Regions from separate parts of the Homo sapiens genome. Here regions 2 and 3 are each linked to region 1. The links are contacts of gene promoters, found by promoter capture Hi-C in blood cells and fetal thymus (Javierre and others, 2016). All regions are on one chromosome and are shown on one strand. Each heading gives the region's core, a stretch centred on a gene start or on the middle of the fragment in contact. The rest is flanking DNA. Distances are from core to core; before and after follow the strand shown. Region 1 holds the start of KRI1 (KRI1 homolog). Region 2 overlaps EPOR (erythropoietin receptor). Region 3 has its middle 7.9 kb from the start of LDLR.

Region 1 (3,934 bases), core at 901-3,400:
GATCCGATCTCTGGAAGGAGAGGTCCTGTCTCTAGGGGTTCCTCATTTTGTAGGGGGCTCTCTGAGACAAATCTGGTTACTTGGGGGTGGGGTCTTCATTCCTAAAGGTTATGCGGATCCTTGATATAGTATGGGGGCCCCAATGGAGGAACAATGTCAGATTGCAAGACATCCCTATATTCCCTGGGAGACATTTTACAGGGAAGTCTCGTTTCTCTTTTATTATTACTTTTGGAATCCCGCTTCTTGAAAGGAGCTCTCAGGTACTCTGAGGTGACATCACCATTATGTAGGAGGAGGCTATTTCCTGGAGAAGGGGTTCGCTTTCCTTTGACATCTTTTTTCCCTTATGAGGACTATCAATTCTTTGGGGGTAGTTCTCCATCTCTGGGGGCCCATTTCCTGGAGGGGATTTTCTGTTTCCTGGTGATTGCCCATATCTGGGGGCGTCTTTGGTCCCTTGGGGGAGAGTCTTAGGTTCCTTGAAAGTTTCCATGGGGGGCTGTTCTCTGGGTTGGGGGGTCTCATTCTTAAGGGAGTGACCAGCTTTTGGGGGGGGTCCCTATTCCCAGAAGAACTTTCCTGGGGGCTTATGCAGCTTCTCCGTTCACTAGAGGACCCCTCCTCTAGCATTTCCTGTTTCTGGGAGATGCCTCTTTCTGGATGACCCTTCTCTTTCCAGTGACCCCTTTTGTGGAACCTCCTCCCTTGAGGACCTCCTGATCCTCTGTCCCTCACACAGGTCATGATGTTTGGCAGCACCGCCATCGCCCTGGAGCTGCTGAAGCAAGGTGCCAGCCCCAATGTCCAGGACACCTCCGGTACCAGTCCAGTCCATGACGCAGCCCGCACTGGATTCCTGGACACCCTGAAGGTCCTAGTGGAGCACGGGGCTGATGTCAACGTGCCTGATGGCACCGGGGCACTTCCAATCCATCTGGCAGTTCAAGAGGGTCACACTGCTGTGGTCAGCTTTCTGGCAGCTGAATCTGATCTCCATCGCAGGGACGCCAGGGGTCTCACACCCTTGGAGCTGGCACTGCAGAGAGGGGCTCAGGACCTCGTGGACATCCTGCAGGGCCACATGGTGGCCCCGCTGTGATCTGGGGTCACCCTCTCCAGCAAGAGAACCCCGTGGGGTTATGTATCAGAAGAGAGGGGAAGAAACACTTTCTCTTCTTGTTTCTCCTGCCCACTGCTGCAGTAGGGGAGGAGCACAGTTTGTGGCTTATAGGTGTTGGTTTTGGGGGTGTGAGTGTTTGGGGGACGTTTCTCATTTGTTTTTCTCACTCCTTTTGGTGTGTTGGACAGAGAAGGGCTCCTGCAGGCCACAGCCACCTAAACGGTTCAGTTTCTTCTGCGCCTCAGGCTGCTGGGGCCTCAGACGAGACCCAAGGGCAGAGCATTTAAGAGTGAAGTCATGACCTCCAGGGAGCCTAGAAGCTGGTGGCCTTGGCCGGCTGTGCTCAGAGACCTGAAGTGTGCACGTTGCTTCAGGCATGGGGGGTGGGGGGAGCGTCCCAAATCAATAAGAAGGTAGAATGAGTTATGAGTTATTCATATTCTGTTGGAAGCTTGTTTTCCAGTCTCTTGTACAGCGTTTTAAAAGAAATGGATTCTATTTATTATGCTTTATTGGAAAAAATGTTGTAATAATTTAATGTTTTTACCCATTAAATTAAGACTTGTGCATGATCACAGCACGGGTGGCTTCTGATTTTTGAGTCTGGGATGGAGAGTTACACATCCCGGATGTTGATGGGGATGAGGACGGGGGTCGCGGATCGTGGATGTGGTGGGTGAGGGGAGAGAATAGTAATTCCCAGGGCGCCAGGGTGAGTGAGCTGGGTGGGGCAGCGGTTTTCGCTGTCGGAACGGAAGGGAAGCAGGAAACCGCGAGTGGAGAAAGGGCCCCCAGATGTCAGCTGGGTGCCCGGAGCACAGGGGGTGGGGCGGGTGGGCGGTGGCCGCGGCCTTCCCCGCAGGGGCGTAGCCGTGGGCGGTGACTGCGGTGATGAGGCGAAAGGGATCCCGGAAAAGCCAGGGGCGGGGTTAGCAGCGGTACGCCTCGTTTACAAGTGGATGCGGGCGGGACTGAGGGCGGCCCCGCCCCGTCCAGGGCTTCCTCAATGCGCGTGCGCAATGGGCCACAGAACCGCCATGCCGGAACCGCGCGGGTCGTCGCAGCTGCGGGTGAACGCGGCGTTTGCCGCGCGGTACAACCGCTACCGGGAGCGCGAGGAACTGCAGCGGCGTGAGTGCGGGGCGCATGCGCGCGGGAGCCTGCGCGCGCCGGCCGGTTGGGAAGTGGGGAGTCGAGTGGCCCCGCCGGCTGACCTGGGGGGGGGCATCCCGTCTGTGTCCCGCAGTGAAGGATCGCTACGGGGACCGAGACAGCAGCAGCGACTCCAGCTCCGAGTCGGACTCAAGCGACGAGCGCGTGGTGCGCGTCCCCGCCCCGTCCTGGACGTGCGGAGGCGTCCAAGCCCCCCTCTGCACCCCGACCCCGATGTAGACGGGGGGGAACCCCCAACCCCAGAGCGCCCTGCGGGAGCGTCCCATCCTCCGCTCCCCATCCCATGAGGGACAGACAGTGCCCCCCCTCTCCCCAGGGGAGCCAAATCCCCGTTATTTTCTCTCCCCTGCCACGATCCCCACCTGCCCACTCTGATGTGTGGGGCGACTCTGTCCCCCAAGAACCCCCCCTTTCCTCTTTCATCCTCAAGAGTCTAGCCATTTTTTAGTGTACTCCTTGCGCCACGTGGGGCGCCCAACTTCTCACATCAGCCCTGATCCTGGCCCCACTGTGCGGCCTGGCCCAGCCCCTCCCCGCTGTCTCTCTTGTGCCCTCAGCCCACCTGCCCCTTGTCAAGTCTTTGTCTTCCCCAGGAATTACCTTCTCCTTGCCCCTCACCTTCCTCTACCCATATCCTGTACCTACCTGTGGCCTGCCCCTGCCCACCCCAAGAGGGCCCCTCTCCCTCCTGCTGTTTGACCACCTGTTTGACCTCCCCAGCCAGATCCACCCCCCTCCATCCTAATCCCTACGCTGAGCTCACCTGCTGGCGCCAGGGCTCTTATTATCTCCCTTCTGAAATCTATCCCCAACCCTTTTCCTGCCCTAGGAATTTGATCCCCAGCAGGAGCGGGACTTTTACAAAACGCTCTCCTTGTTGAAGAAGAAGGACCCCCGCATTTATCAGAAAGATGCCACCTTCTATAACAGAACAGGTCCGGGGCCACTCCTGTCTAAACCTCTCCTTCCTCTGGAGCAGAATCCGGGGTCCTTTCCTGACTGTGGATTCAGAGAAGTGACTTGACTTCTCTGAGCCTCTTTTCCTGTCTGTAAAGTATATCTAACGGTAGCATCTCCCCTCAGGGCTGTTTTAAGGATAGATTGGGATTTACCCAGTTTACACAGTTCATCTGTTTTGACTATTGAATGAATTGCTTCACAAGTCACAAGTCCTTAGCAGAGCCTAGGTTATTACCTGGTGGTGGAGTTAATGACTGTGTCCTTGGCACTATTCAAGGTGGGAATTGCTGACTGAATGATTCCAACTCCACCAGGCTGGGCAGGTGGTTCAAGCATCTAATCCCAGCACTTTGGGAGGCTGAGGTGGGAGGGTCAATTGAGGCCAGGAGTTTGAGACCAGTTTGGCCAACATAGCAAGACCCCATTTCTCTTTTTTTTTTTTTGAAATGGAGTTTCACTCTTGTTGCCCAGGCTGGGTTGCAATGGGACGATCTCAGCTCACTGCAACCTCCGTCTCCCAGGTTCAAGCGATTCTCCTGCCTCAGCCTCCTGAGTAGCTGGAATTACAGGCACGCGCCACCACGCCCAGCTAATTTGGGATTTTTAGTAGAGACAGGGTTTCTCCATGTTGGCCAGGCTGGTCTCGAACTCCCAACTTCAGGTGATCCGCCCACCCTG
Region 2 (3,934 bases), core at 782-3,281, 810 kb before region 1:
GTGGCACATGCCTGTAATCCCCGCTACTCGGGAGGCTGAGGCAGGAGAATCACTTGAACCTGGGAGGTGGAGGTTGCGGGTGAGCCGAGATCGTGCCATCGCATTCCAGCCTGGGCAATAAGAGTGAAACTCCGTCTCAAAAAAAAAAAAAAAATTGCCACATGGCTAGAGTGGTATGTAAGGGGGTGTGGCAGATATTGAGATGAGGGAGGTGACAGGGGTCATATAACGCAGGGCCTTCTGCAGGGTGGTGGGGAGGAGTTTGGAATTTTTTTTTTTTTTGAGACAGAGTCACTCTTGTCGCCCAAGCTGTAGTGCAGTGCAGCAGTCTTGGCTCACTGCAATCTCTGCCTCCCAGGTTCAAGTGATTCTCCTGCCTCAACCGCCTGAGTAGCTGAGATTACAGGCGTGCATGCCCGGCTAATTTTGTAGTTTTAGTAGAGACGGGGTTCCACCATGTTGGCCAGGCTGGTCTCAAACTCCTGACCTCAGGTGATCTGCTCACATCAGCCTCTCAAAGTGCTGGGATTATAGGCATGAGCCACCGTGCCTGGCTTGGATTTTATCCTAAATGCCTTCTCTCATTACCCCAGAAGGTAACATAATATTTATCTATGAAGTGACATCATGGACCTCCTGGAAAAATCTGGGCCAGGGTTTTGGGTTTTTTAATTTATTTTATTTTATTTTTTTTAGAGATGGGGGTCTCACTATGTTTCCTAGGCTGGTCTTGAACTCCTGGGTTCAAATGATCCTCCCACCTCAGCCTCCCAAAGTACTGGGATTATAGTGCTGGTGTAAACCACTGCACCTGGCCATGGCCAGGATTAAAGGGAGAATGACCAAGGTATATTGAACTCCTATGCACCCTTCAATACCCTGTTCCATTTACCCTTTTGTAGGGCCTTGCTGATGCTTCAGCCAAAACCCCTGTCCCCTGGCCCTGATGTACTCCTCTGCCTCCATTGTGATCACAGGGACCAAGTGTATCTGTGCCTCTATGACTGGGAGTGGAGGGGGAATTGGTGAGTATTCAATGAGTCATATCTATGTAACTATTTATATTGGCTTCAACAGGGCTCTGAAGCAGAAGATCTGGCCTGGCATCCCGAGCCCAGAGAGCGAGTTTGAAGGCCTCTTCACCACCCACAAGGGTAACTTCCAGGTAGGTGGCCTGGTTGTCCCCTCAGTGCCTGGGCTTCCCTGCTTCTTGCAGCCAAACTGCAGGCCTCTCTGAGCAGGTTGGTGCTATTTCTTCAGCTGTGGCTGTACCAGAATGATGGCTGCCTGTGGTGGAGCCCCTGCACCCCCTTCACGGAGGACCCACCTGCTTCCCTGGAAGTCCTCTCAGAGCGCTGCTGGGGGACGATGCAGGCAGTGGAGCCGGGGACAGATGATGAGGGCCCCCTGCTGGAGCCAGTGGGCAGTGAGCATGCCCAGGATACCTATCTGGTGCTGGACAAATGGTTGCTGCCCCGGAACCCGCCCAGTGAGGACCTCCCAGGGCCTGGTGGCAGTGTGGACATAGTGGCCATGGATGAAGGCTCAGAAGCATCCTCCTGCTCATCTGCTTTGGCCTCGAAGCCCAGCCCAGAGGGAGCCTCTGCTGCCAGCTTTGAGTACACTATCCTGGACCCCAGCTCCCAGCTCTTGCGTCCATGGACACTGTGCCCTGAGCTGCCCCCTACCCCACCCCACCTAAAGTACCTGTACCTTGTGGTATCTGACTCTGGCATCTCAACTGACTACAGCTCAGGGGACTCCCAGGGAGCCCAAGGGGGCTTATCCGATGGCCCCTACTCCAACCCTTATGAGAACAGCCTTATCCCAGCCGCTGAGCCTCTGCCCCCCAGCTATGTGGCTTGCTCTTAGGACACCAGGCTGCAGATGATCAGGGATCCAATATGACTCAGAGAACCAGTGCAGACTCAAGACTTATGGAACAGGGATGGCGAGGCCTCTCTCAGGAGCAGGGGCATTGCTGATTTTGTCTGCCCAATCCATCCTGCTCAGGAAACCACAACCTTGCAGTATTTTTAAATATGTATAGTTTTTTTTTGTATCTATATATATATATACACATATGTATGTAAGTTTTTCTACCATGATTTCTACAAACACCCTTTAAGTCCCATCTTCCCCTGGGCATAGGCCATAGGGATAGAAGTTAAAGTTCTTGAGCTTATTCAGAAGCTGGATCTGCAATCTGAATGCTACTCATAACATAACAAAATAGTATGTTAAACAGCTCTTAAATCTTACTGGCTTACCACATTAAATGATTTCTCTCTCCTAACTCAGCTCAAATGGGCAGCCATCCATGGGATGAGTCAGAGGTTCAGACTCTTCCAGTCTGTAGCTCTACCTTCTCTTAGGGTACTTAGATGGATCCCCTGTTCTACAAACTGCCAGTCAGCAAGGGAAGAAAAAGGGCAGCAATGACCCTCAATGGGCCATTTGAGGGATCTGGCCTGGAAATGGGCTTCCTCTCTTCTTCTCACACCTCACTGGCTGGAAACAGTCACATGACCCCAGTCACATGAAAGGCCAGGAAACTTAGTTTAGCTGTACACCCAGGAAGGGCAAAGCTGTTTAAGGGCCACTAGCTAGTCTCTGCCACTAATAATAATAAAAGTAATTCTGAATCAGGCCATGTTCTAAGAAAGTACTCTGATGACACTTGGTGTCAACAAGTAACTCAGTGGGAGTTTTGCTTTAACTACTTCTTTTTTTTTCTGAGACAGGGTCTCACTTTTGCACAGGCTGGAGCCCAGTAGCTCAAACATGGTTCGCTGCAGCCTCGACCTCCTGGGCTCAGGCGATCCTCCTGCCTCAGCTTTTCGAGTAGCTGGGACTACTGGCGTGCACCACCAAGCCTGACTGATTTTTTTTTTTTTTTTTTTTGAGACAGAGTCTCGTCTTCATCACCCAGGCTGGAGTGCAGTGGCTCGATCTCAGCTCACTGCAACCTCTGCCTCCCGGGTTCAAGCAATTCTCCTGTCTCAGCCTCCCAAGTAGCTGGGAGTACAAGTGCATGCCACCATGCCTGGCTAAATTTTGTATTTTTAGTAGAGACGGGGTTTCACCATGTAGGCCGGGCTGACCTCGAACTCCTGACCTCAGGTGATCCACCTGTCTCGGCCCCTAAAAACACACACACGTACCAGGGCATGTGTGCAAGAATGTTCGCAGCAGTAAATAAGGCAATCTGATGAAGAAATCAGGGTATAGTCACCCATGGAATTATATGCAATATGGAAAAAGGAATGAACTAAAAAAATGTAGATGAATCTTAGTAACAACGTTGAGTGCAAAAAGAAGGAAGTCTCAAACTTTTTTTTTTTTTTTTTTTTGAGATGGAGTCTCGCTTTGTCACCCAGGCTGGAGTGTAGTGGCACAATCTCGGCTCACTGCAACCTCCGCTTCCTGGGTTCAAGCAATTCTCCTGCCTAAGCCTCCTGAGTAGCTGAGACTACAGGCACCTGCCACCACACCCAGCTAATTTTTTTTGTACTTTTAGTTGATACAGGGTTTCATCATGTTGGGCAGGCTGGTCTCCAACTCCTGACCTCTGGTGATCTGACCGCCTCAGCCTCCCAAAGTGCTGGGATTACAGGCGTGAGCCACCACGCCTGGCCTGAAGCTCTTTTTATAAAGTTTAAAGCAATGAAACTATAAACAACATATTGATTGGGTAAAATATATACAAGATAATGCTATACTTTTAAAAGAGAAAAAGCACTTTACATTGTTTAGGTCTTTGGATCTGCATATGTCCCTGAGGTAAGTATTCCAGCCATGGGAAACTGAAGCACAGAGAGGTAGTCACCCACCAAAGCTCAGGGCTGGCCTCCAGAGCTTGAACCCTTGCCTGAGCTGGGGTCACCAGCCTGGGTGGGCCACGGAGCGATCATCATTTCTCCATCTGATCGGA
Region 3 (3,934 bases), core at 738-3,237, 520 kb before region 1:
TAAATACACATATATTTTTAAAAAGTAGCTGGGCACAGTGGCGCACACCTGTAGTCCCAGCTGCGGAGAGGCTGAGGCACAAGAATCGCTTGAACCTGGGAGGCAGAGGTTGCAGCGAGCCAAGATCACACCAGCCGGGTGCAGTGGCTCACGCCTGTAATCCCAGCACTTTGGGAGGCCGAGGCAGGCGGATCACGAGGTCAGGAGATCGAGACCATCCTGGCCAACATAGTGAAACCCTGTCTCTACTAAAAATACAAAAATTAGCCGGGTGAGGTGGTGGGCGGCTGTGGTCCCAGCTACTTGGGAGGCTGAGGCATAAGAATGGCACGAACCTGGGAGGCGGAGCTTGCAGTGAGCTGAGATCGTGACACTGCACTCCAGCCTGGGCGACAGAGCGAGACTCCATCTCAAAAAAAAAAAAAAAATAGATCACACCACCACATTCTAGCCTGGGCGACAAGAGCGAGAGTCTGTCTCAAAAAAAAAAATTGCCTTATAATCCAGAAATTCCACATCTGAAATATCCCCAAAAGCATTGAAAGCAGAGACCCAAAGATATATGTGTATACCATGTACATAGAAGCTTCTTCAAAATGGCCAAAGGTGGAATCAACCCAAGTGTCCATCAGGATAAACAAAATATGACATATTAATATAATAGAATAAAATTTAGCCTTAAAAACAAGGAAATTCAGGCATCCTCCAACATGGATAAACCTTGAGGATATAAGGCCGGGTGAAATAAGCCAGCCACAAAAGGACAAACAGGTTTGACTCCACTTCTATTAGGTCCTAGAATAGGCAAATTCATACAAAAAGTAGACAAAAAGTAGAATAGTGATTACCAGGGGCTGAGAGGAAGAACGGGAAATTGGGTATGGGGTTTTCACTTTGCAAGATGAAAAACTTCTGCAGGTGAGTAGTGGTGACAGTTGAACAACAATGTGAGTATACTTTAATGCCTCTGAACTTGAAAATGGTTAATATGGTAAATTTTAGGGCTGAGCGTGGTGGCTCCTGCCTGTAATCCCAGCACTTTGGGAGGCCGAGGGGGGCGGATCACTTGAGGTCAGGAGTTTGCGACCAGCTTGGCCAACTTGGCGTAACCCCGTCTCTACTAAAAATACAAAATTAGCCGGGTATGGTGGCAAGCACCTGTAATCCCAGCTACTCGGGAGGCTGAGGCAGGAAAATCGCTTGAACCCAGGAGGCAGAGGCTGCAGTGAGCCAAGATCATGCCACTGCACTCCAACCTGGGCAACAGAGTGAGACCCTGTCTCAAAAAAAAAAAGGGTAAATTTTATATCTATTTTGCTACAATAAAAAGATTTAAAAAAAAAAAGCAAAAGGGCTCAAAAGGTGGACACATGGAAAAACCTCCATCCCATGCAGGTCCCCTGCCCTCTGACAATTAAGACTGCTGACCTTTTTTGTTTTTTTTTGAGACGGAGTCCTGTTCTGTCACCCAGGCTGCAGTGCAATGGCACAGTCTCGGCTCACTGCAACCTCTGCCTCCCGAGTTCAAGCGATTCTCCTGCCTCAGGTTCCAAAGTAGCTGGGACTACAGGCACATGCCACCGTACCCGGCTAATTTTTGTATTTTTAGTAAAGATGAGGTTTCACTATATTGGTCAGGCTGATCTAGAACTCCTGACCTTGTGATCCGTCCGCGTTGGCATCCCAAAGTGCTGAGATTACAGGCGTGAGCCACCACGCCTGGCCAGGACTGCTAACCTTTTAAGCATATCCTTCTAGAACATTCTAAGCATATACAAGGAGGAGAGTATATCATATTCCCCTCCATTTCCCCCTGTACATTGTAGTACCCATTCATACTGCTCTATACCCTCTGGTTTCATTTATTGAGGTATCTTAAAGAATGTTCCAGGGGAAAAAAAAAAGAATGTTCTGGAACAACAGAAATCAGACTATGGATGGACAGGATTTCCGCAGGTAGGAGCAGCGCCGAGGTGGAAATGGCAGATCAGTGAAAGCTGGCTGAGGCAAGGCATATGTGTGGAACGCTGGGAGGTTGAAATAAAATTGGGAGAGACACTTTCACATCCCCTGGGAATGAAAGAAACTATTTTTGGGGCAGTGAGAAGACTTTGAAAAAAAAAATTAGAGTTCTTATGCGGGTGCATGACTTCTCGGTTCGGTCATGGGAGTGGGGCTACCAGAGGGAAAGGAGACTGATCAATCAGGTTGGGACTTGGGGTGAGGTGGGGCGAGGACAGCAGGACAGAGGAAAAAGTATACACCTCTTACGTTAGACTTTATATTTATCTCTCGAGCAGGTCATTATTTGAATCATTAAATTAAACTTTCTTTCTTTTTTTTTTTTTGAGACAAGAGTCTTACTCTGTCACCCAGTGGCGCAATCTCAGTTCACTGCAACTTCCATCTCCCAGGTTGAAGCGATTCTCCTGCCTCAGCCTTCCGAGTAGCTGGGACTACACCCGGCTACTTTTTGTATTTTTAGTAGAGACGGGGTTTCACCATGTTTGTTGGCCAGGCTGGTCTTGAACTCCTGACCTCAAGAGATCTACCCACCTTGGCCTCCCAAAGTGCTGGGATTACAGGTGTGAGCCACCGTGCCCGAACTTTTTTATGTTTTTTTTGTTGTTGTTGCTGTTGTTGTTTCTTTTTTGAGACGGAGTCTTGCTCTGTTGCCAGGCTGGAATGCAGTGGCACAATCTCCTCTCGCTGCAACCTCTGACTCCCTGGTTCAAGTGATTCTCCTGCCTCAGCCTCCCGAGTAGCTGGGATTACAGGTATACGCCACCACGCCCAGCTAATTTTTGTGTTTTCAGTAGAGACAGGGTTTCATCATGTTGGCCAGGATGGCCTCGATCTCCTGACCTCGTGGTCTGCCCACCCCAGCCTCCCAAAGTGCTGGGATTACAGGCGTGAGCCACCGCGTCCGGCCTTATTTTTTTATTTTTATTTTTTTGAGGCAGCCTCTTTCTCTGTCACCCAGACTGGAGTGTAGTAGTTCAATCGTAGCTCATTGCAGCTCAACCTCCTGGGCTCAAGAGATCCTCCTGCTTCAGCCTCCAAAAAAGCTAAAACTAGAGGCATACACCACCATATCTACCTAATTTTTAAATTTTTTGTAGCGACAGGGTCTCACTATGTGGCCCAGACTGGTCTTGAACTCCTGGACTCAAGCAATCCTCCTGCCTGGGTCTTCCAAAGTCCTGGGATTATAGGCGTGAGCCAACATACCCGGCCGTAAAAATTTCATTCATGAAGTGTCCTTGTCTTCTCATCGTTTATGAATTGTATCTGTGTGAAACACATTGTTTACAGACTACTCCTAGTTAGATTTCACGAATGATTTCTGGAAATATCTAGAATGATCTGGAAGAGTCTGGAAAGCTTTGGAGGGATGGGAAGTCTGGCCAAAATTAGGAAGAGTCAGATTTCCATCTTGATTACGTTGCTTCTGTGACCTTCCTCGGACGAATCATTTCTTTCTGGGTCTTCTATTTACTCTTCATTCAAGCAACTTTTCTTGGCCAGGCGCAGGGGTTCACACCTGTAATCCCAGCACTCTGGGAGGCCGAGGCAGGTGGATCACGTGAGGTCAGGAGTTTGAGACCAGCCTGGCCAACATGGTGAAACCGCATCTCTACTAAAAATACAAAAATTAGCCAGGCATGGTGGCGGGCGCGTATAATCCTAGCTACTTGGAAGGCTGAGGCAGGAGAATCACTTGAACCCGGGAGACAGAGCTTGCAGCTTTTTTTTTTTTTTTTCTTGCGATGGAGTCTCACTCTTTTGCCCAGGCTAGAGTGCAGTGGCGCGATCTCAGCTCACTGCAAGCTCCACCTCCCGGGATGAAGCGATTCTCCTGCCTCAGCCTCCAGAGTAGCTGGGATTACAGGCATGCAGCATCATGCCCGGCTAATTTTTGTATTTTTAGTAG

The links. The method cuts DNA at HindIII sites, captures the fragments that hold promoters and counts their contacts. A CHiCAGO score of 5 or more calls a contact.
Region 2: a fragment that was not itself captured here is called in contact with the fragment with the promoter of KRI1 in region 1 in 2 of 17 cell types (fetal thymus and non-activated CD4 T cells); the score reaches 7.3 in fetal thymus.
Region 3: a contact is called between a fragment that was not itself captured here and the fragment with the promoter of KRI1 in region 1, in 1 of 17 cell types (neutrophils). The highest score is 6.0, in neutrophils.

The regions. Positions count from the first base shown.
Region 1 is chr19:10,564,226-10,568,159 of GRCh38, reverse strand. It overlaps KRI1 (KRI1 homolog), which reads left to right and starts at 2,150. Exons shown (of 19, transcript NM_023008.5): 1 at 2,150-2,254; 2 at 2,370-2,443; 3 at 3,126-3,231. The coding sequence starts at 2,161. CDKN2D (cyclin dependent kinase inhibitor 2D) reads left to right here. Exons shown (of 2, transcript NM_001800.4): 2 at 743-1,700. The coding sequence ends at 1,102. RefSeq lists enhancers at 1-14, 454-961, 1,910-2,477, 2,680-2,729, 2,478-3,045 and a silencer at 1,880-2,409. The HindIII fragment of the contact is 9,818 bases long and covers 1,577-3,934 here.
Region 2 is chr19:11,375,922-11,379,855 of GRCh38, reverse strand. EPOR (erythropoietin receptor) reads left to right here. Exons shown (of 8, transcript NM_000121.4): 7 at 1,078-1,165; 8 at 1,261-2,649. The coding sequence ends at 1,872. SWSAP1 (SWIM-type zinc finger 7 associated protein 1) reads right to left here. Exons shown (of 2, transcript NM_175871.4): 2 at 3,687-3,934. The coding sequence ends at 3,840. Among named protein-coding and RNA genes, the nearest start is that of SWSAP1, 3.2 kb to the right of the region's middle. The HindIII fragment of the contact is 5,258 bases long and covers 1-3,934 here.
Region 3 is chr19:11,079,612-11,083,545 of GRCh38, reverse strand. No RefSeq gene overlaps it. Among named protein-coding and RNA genes, the nearest start is that of LDLR, 7.9 kb to the left of the region's middle. The HindIII fragment of the contact is 2,798 bases long and covers 589-3,386 here.